2 separate regions of the Homo sapiens genome follow, and region 2 is linked to region 1. The links are contacts of gene promoters, found by promoter capture Hi-C in human tissues and cell types (Jung and others, 2019). All regions are on one chromosome and are shown on one strand. The core of a region is centred on a gene start or on the middle of the fragment in contact, and the rest is flanking DNA. Distances in the headings are between cores, read along the strand shown. Region 1 holds the start of ZFP69 (ZFP69 zinc finger protein). Region 2 overlaps LOC105378675 (a long non-coding RNA gene).

Region 1 (3,147 bases), core at 173-2,672:
TCAGCCTCTTGAAGAGCTGGGACTTCAGGGCTGTGCCACCATACCTGGCTAATTTTTGATATTTTGTAGAGACAGGGTTTTGCCATGTTGCCCAGGCTGGTCTTGAACTCCCGAGCTCAAGCAATCCACCTGCCTTGGCCTCCCAAAGTGCTGGGATTATAGACATAAACCACTGTGTCCAGCCCAAGAAAATATTATTTTGCGGTTTGCATCAAATAATTCTAAAAGCAGTTGTTTCTGCAGGTCTATTTCCAATGTTTGTGTTTCTGCTGGTTCTCACTAAGAATCTAGTTTCTTTGTGTACCTGGTTATCTTTAATTCTGTATTTGACATTGTCTATGAAAACTTATGTGTAGGAAAAATGTCGGCCCTACAATTATAAGGCTTTCCTCCACCTATTTGCTTTTGCCAAGCATCTGGTGACACCATAGTCAGAGACAGTCTTAAACCAAGATAATGTCTGAGACAGGCAATTTGATGCAGTCTGTAAATTCCTTTTAAGCTGTTCCATTTTCAATTCATCCTCACCCTGAGGCTGTTGCCCTTTGGGGTCCCAGTTATTGTAAGGAGGGTCTTCTTCTTCTTCTTCTTTTTTTTTTTTTTTTGAGATGGAGTTTTGCTCTTGTCGCTCAGGCATGGAGAAACCCCATCTCTACTAAAAATACAAAATTACAGGCATGGTGATGCGTGCCTGTAATCCCAGCTACTCTGGAGGCTGAGGCAGGAGAATCACTTGAACCCGGGAGGCAGAGGTTGCGGTGAGCCAACATCGCGCCACTGCACTCCAGCTTGGGCAACAAGAGCGAAACTCCGTCTCAAAAACAAATTTATATATTATATATATATGTATATATATATACACATACACACACACACACACACACACGTATTCCAGAATTTTATTTTTAAATTTTATTGTTGTTTTCTACAGTGGGTTGATACAAATATCCTAGCCCATCATCTCCCCACCCTGCTTTCCTTTTCTTCATGGTCCTCACAATCGCCTGGGGTATTATCTATTTATTTTTCTATTTGTTATTGTCAATTAATTTCAATGTAATTAAGTTCCAAGAAAGCAGGAACTGCGTTTTGTTAACTGCTGTATACGCAGGGCCAATAAGAATGTGGGGGTAGATCTTACACACTCAGAATAGATAACTGAATGAATGAATGAATGAATGAGTGAATGAATGAATGACAGGGAAGGCGCTTCACCGGAAAGGCTGAAGGAGGTCTCCCAAGGACCGCTGTGAGGAAACGGGGGGCGGCGTGGGTGGGTGGCCGCTACCCACGGTTCCGGACGGCCCTCGGGGGCGCGCTCGGGCGGCTTCCAGCTTCCGGGTTCGAGGGCGCGCGCTGCTTCCCGGGAGAGGGCGGGCTCCGTGGCAGCCCCCTGTGGGCGGAGCCGGCGGCCGGGGCTCACAACCCGCCGGAAGACGCGCGGGTTGTGGCAGCTGCAGCGGGACCGCGTGGGGTGGGCCCCGGGACCGCCAGGGCTGCAGCGAGAGCGGCCGGCGGTGCAAGCGGCCGGGAGGGCGCGGCCGGAGGCAGAGGCCAGGCGAGACACCCGGCTGCGGCCTAAGAGGCCAGGCTGGGTGGGCTTGGCTGCAGCCGCCAGCCCCGTGTTAAAGCGGCAGCCAGGGAGGTGTATCCTCCCCGGGGTCTGCAAGACGCCGGCTCAGGGCATCCCTCCCATTCCGGCCCTCAAAGCCTCGCTCCTGGGGGCGCTGCTGGGAAAGCCCACCCGCCTGGGCGGGCCCTTGATGGGAATGTGGAGCAGACCCTCGTCCACTCCGGAGGCCGAGGGTCCTCCGGGCTTCCGAAGGAAGCCGACCTCAACGCTGGACGCTTCTTGGAGAATGATTGCGTTGAGTGGAGATGTGGTCTGTCTATAAAAGGCCGGGAGGGAACAATATCTGTTACCACTCAGTCCGTCTCTAAAGAGACACTCTTTACCGCTGAAAACCTCAAGAGTGAGCACTCCCACGCCCCCGTCTCTGGTCCTACCTGGGTCCAAGGCCGATGTGGTGAGTAGGAGTCTGTGTGCAGTCTTTGAGTCCGAGGGTGGCATGTCTGGGAGCACTGTGAGGGTGGGGCATCTTCGATATGAAGCTTCTCAGCCATTAACTGTTTCCCGAGTAAGATTCGAAAATTCGTGCACTTTGGTAACAAGACTTTTTATGTATTCAGGGGTGGGATATTTCTCACAAGCTCCAATTCCTAGAACACACGCAGCTCCTGTCTCTGCATATAGTCACACACACACACACACACACACACACGCCTATAAGTCACATACCCATCCTTCTCCAACAAACTTCAAAAAGTTGGGCCAGCTCCCTTCCCACGTAGCTCCGACTGTTCTTGGAGTGCCGTATACTTTGGACCTGGTCACGGTCAAAGCACCTGCTCAGATTCTAGGGTTTGGTTGAGATGATGGATTTGAGTTGTTTCCAAATTTGCCTATTACTATTCTGCAGTAGTCCTCATTATACTAAATTTACACCATTTGAAGACATACCCTCTTCCCCAATTTTAACATTTCTGAAACCAAGATGCATCTTCCCAGTGTGGTTCCAAGGAACTTGCCAGCTGCTGGGCATCTGCGTGGGTGGTGACGTGGCTGTCACTGCTTGTTCATGCCAAAATGCAGCTATGTCATTATTCTGTCAGTTGAGATATTTTGAACTTTAAATTCAGATTTAATGGTTTCTAAAAATAACTTTAAAAATTAATACTATGATTCAGCAATATGATAACAGGTTTATAACAATGTTCATTAAGGGTTTACTGTATGCCTAGCATTGTCTCAACCAACATTACAACTCTATAGAATACAATTATTATCTCCATTTTATAGATTAAGAAACTGAAGCTGAGAGTTGAAGTGTCATAGAGCTTTTAAGTGCAAGTGTCAGGTTTCTAAGCCAGGCTGTCTGATTTCAAAGCCTGCCCTCTTAAACCCCGTCTGTGTCCAGGCAGAAGATGCATGCAGCTTACAAGGAGGGAAGATGAGGCATGGTCTGTGCATGTTTGTACATCTTTGCATGTTTGTGTATGTATGTATAGAACTGGAGATAGAGCCACGTCCAGGAACATGTATTATATTTATTCCTGCATGGATATTTTTCTTTTGGGTATTTTGCA
Region 2 (3,147 bases), core at 348-2,847, 190 kb after region 1:
TAATATTTGCTGGAGGCATGTAAAACCAGTAGTCTCCCTGCTGAGGGCATGAATTAAAATGTAAATGGGAGCTGGGTGCGGTGGCTCATGCCTGTACCAGTGTTTTGGGAGGCCAAGGTGGGTGGATTGCTTGAGGCTGGGAGTTCGAGATCAACCTGGCCAACATGGTGAAACCCCATCTCTACTAAAAATACAAAAATTAGCCAGGTGTGGTGGCACACAACTATAGTCCCAGCTACTCGGGAGGCTGAGGTACGAGAATCACTTGAACCCAGGAGGCGGAGGTTGCAGTGAGCCGAGGTCGCACCACTGCACTCCAGCCTGAGTGACAGGGGGAACTCTGTCTCAAAAAAAAGTAAATGGGGAGTGGGAAGGTGGGGAGAAAAAGGAAAATTATTGGGATTAAAGGATCCTCCTGGGGATTGCTAGGAGGCATAGTCATCCTACGCCTTCCCTTCTCACCTGGTCTGTGAGAAGCATAAACTGAGGCCCTACAATGTGAAAAGCCTCAAAGTGCGTTCCATAGCTGGTCAGAGGTGGAGCTGGGGCTCCTGATTATATTTACATATTAATTAAAGCTTTGTTATCAGCTATTCTACCTCAGGCCTAGGCCTGGACTAGGGCCTGGGTGGTAGAATGGGTTACTCTGGAGCAGCAAGGGGGACTAGATTAGGGGAGGTGGGATGGAGGCCAGGGCAGGACCTGGAACGAGGGTGGAGGTGAGGGGTGGGAGCACAGAGAGGAATCAGGCTTCCTGTGTGCTCCTCCCTGGCCCCTTTCACAGAGACAGGTAAACCAGGGGTTCCCTTTGCACATCTGATGAAAACTTAGCACTATCTCTCTGGAGATGTGCAATGTATATTTTGCATATAATTTCAGTATCTTCAAAGTTCTATATTGGTTACCAGAAGGACTGGATGGGAGGTGGGTGGAGAGGGGGTTGATTCTTAAGTGTATATAGAAGAATAAACATACAGGAATAAAAAGTCCAGGAAGAAAAGTAATGAAAAGGGATTTGTCTTACCCGATACTAAAACATACTATAAAGTCAATGTATTTAAAGCAGTATGGTATTGAAGCAGGACTAGACCGATCTGTGGAACAAAATGGAGTATGGAAATGGATCCAGCCCCACAAGGGAATTCAATGTATGATAAAGATAGCACTTCAGGCCCGGCACAGTGGCTCATGCCAGTAATCCCAAAACTTTGGGAGGTTGAGGCGGGCAGATCACTTGAGACTAGCCTGGGCAACATGGCAAAACTTTGTCTCTATAAAAAAATACAAAACTTGTGGCCGGGGGCGGTGGCTCACACCTGTAATCCCAGCACTTTGGGAGGCCGAGGCAGGCGGATCACAAGATCAAGAGATTGAGACCATCCTAGCCAACATGGTGAAACCCTGTCTCAACTAAAAATACAAAAATTAGCTGGGTGTGGTGGCATGCACCTGTAGTCCCAACTACTTGGGAGACTGAGGCAGGAGAATCGCTTGAACCCAGGAGGCGGAGGTTGCAGTGAACTGAGATCGCACCACTGCACTCCAGCCTGGTAACAGAGCAAGACTCTGTCTCAAAAAAAAAAAAAAAAAAAAAATTTATCTGGGCATGATTGCACACACCTGTAGTCCCAGCTACCAGGGAGGCTGAAGTGGGAGGATTACCTGAGCCTGGGAGGTCAAGGCTGCAGTGAGCTGTGATCACGCCACTGCACTCCAGCCTGGGCAACAGAGCAAGACCTTGTCTCTAAATGAATGAATGAATAAAAGACAGCACTTCAGACAAATGGGGGGCGGAGTTGGTAGGGGGTTGTGGGCGGGGGGGGGGGGGTTGGTGGCGGAGATCAAATGGGTGGAATAACCAGCAAGTCTTTTGGGGAAATTACAAAAAGCTGTGCCCTTATTCGACACTGAAATAAATTCCAGGTGGACCACATATTTAACACCATAATGTATCAGAAAAAAGACATGAGTGAATATTTTAATAATCTTGGAGATGGAAAAGACTTTCTAAGCATGATGAAACCTAGAAGCCATAAGAGAAAACATGGAAATGTTTGACTACAAGGCTTCTATACAGAAGAAATGGCCATAAGTCAGTTTGAAAGACAAATGACAAAACGGAGGGGATATATCCTGGTTGCCCCCTACCCTGTCCCCTCCTGCCCGCCAGCCCCTCCAAGCCGAGACGGGGACGAGCAGGAGGGATGGCTGGGGCTGTGAGAGTCGAGACCGAGCACCTGGCAGAGGCTTCTCCTGCGGCGCTCTGGCCAGCGCCCACATGTTTAGGGGCCGGGAAGTCCCGGAAACCCCAGGCGGGCCATCTGGGTCCTCAGCAGGTGCCTTGGCACAGCCGAGCCGAAGTCCTCCTGGAGGCTGCTCACCACTTCCCTCGCGTGGCCATCCTAAGAACTGCAATCCTCTGTTCCTGCTCAGCCCCTTCTGAGCATCAAGGCGAGAATTTAAAAATAAATAAATAACAGCTAATTTTTTGAGGGAACTAACCATGTTCCAGGCATTGTGTTAAACACTTAACCTAGCATATTTCATTTTCCCCTCAAAACAGCTCTTCGAGGTAGGTGCACTGTATTCTTATCTCCATTTGATGGACGGAAACTGAGGCTTGAAAAAAGTGACTTGTCTTTCTAAGTGGTGGCACCAGAATTTACTGCCACATTCCTGGCCTCAGCTCTTAATGTAATAAAGCCAAACCTTTGGGAAAATTCAATAAAACAAACTTTTTTGAGGTTTACCTTTATCCAGGCCTTTTGCAGGTGCTGGGGATTCTGAATTGAGGAAAATAGTCATCAGAGGTGACAGCAGAGGAACACTCCTGATACAGCGAATCCTGATGGCTACAGAGGACTCATTCACCCCAGGAAGCGGTGGGGGCAGTGGGGAGGGATCCCAGAGGAGACGTCCTCCAAGCTGCATCTTGTGGAGAGAGAGTAGTGGGGTGGCACTTACTAAGGTGGGCTGGATGACAAGTGGGGCTTGGGGGAGGAGCAGTGATCTATATGCTCTGAGTTTGGGGGTAGACCACAGATGGGGCTGAATAAAGTACACCAGGACCAAGCTAAGGAGTTTGGGTGCAAAGATTTTTTTGAAAGCTTTTCCATGTTTCAGTTGCTTGGGTCTAGGGACAGCCTG

Evidence for each region. The method cuts DNA at HindIII sites, captures the fragments that hold promoters and counts their contacts. A contact is called where the count stands out against the background at its distance.
Region 2: a fragment that was not itself captured here is called in contact with the fragment with the promoter of ZFP69 in region 1 in 1 of the 25 tissues and cell types used here (pancreas).

Annotation. Positions count from the first base shown.
Region 1 is chr1:40,475,868-40,479,014 of GRCh38, forward strand. It overlaps ZFP69 (ZFP69 zinc finger protein), which reads left to right and starts at 1,423. Exons shown (of 6, transcript NM_001320179.2): 1 at 1,423-2,027. RefSeq lists a silencer at 1,162-1,631. The HindIII fragment of the contact is 19,716 bases long and covers 1-3,147 here.
Region 2 is chr1:40,666,677-40,669,823 of GRCh38, forward strand. It overlaps LOC105378675 (a long non-coding RNA gene), which reads left to right. Exons shown (of 2, transcript XR_947238.3): 2 at 1-1,000. It also overlaps a transcript of RIMS3 not described here. Among named protein-coding and RNA genes, the nearest start is that of RIMS3, 2.6 kb to the left of the region's middle. RefSeq lists enhancers at 2,235-2,384, 2,445-2,494. The HindIII fragment of the contact is 3,607 bases long and covers 1-3,147 here.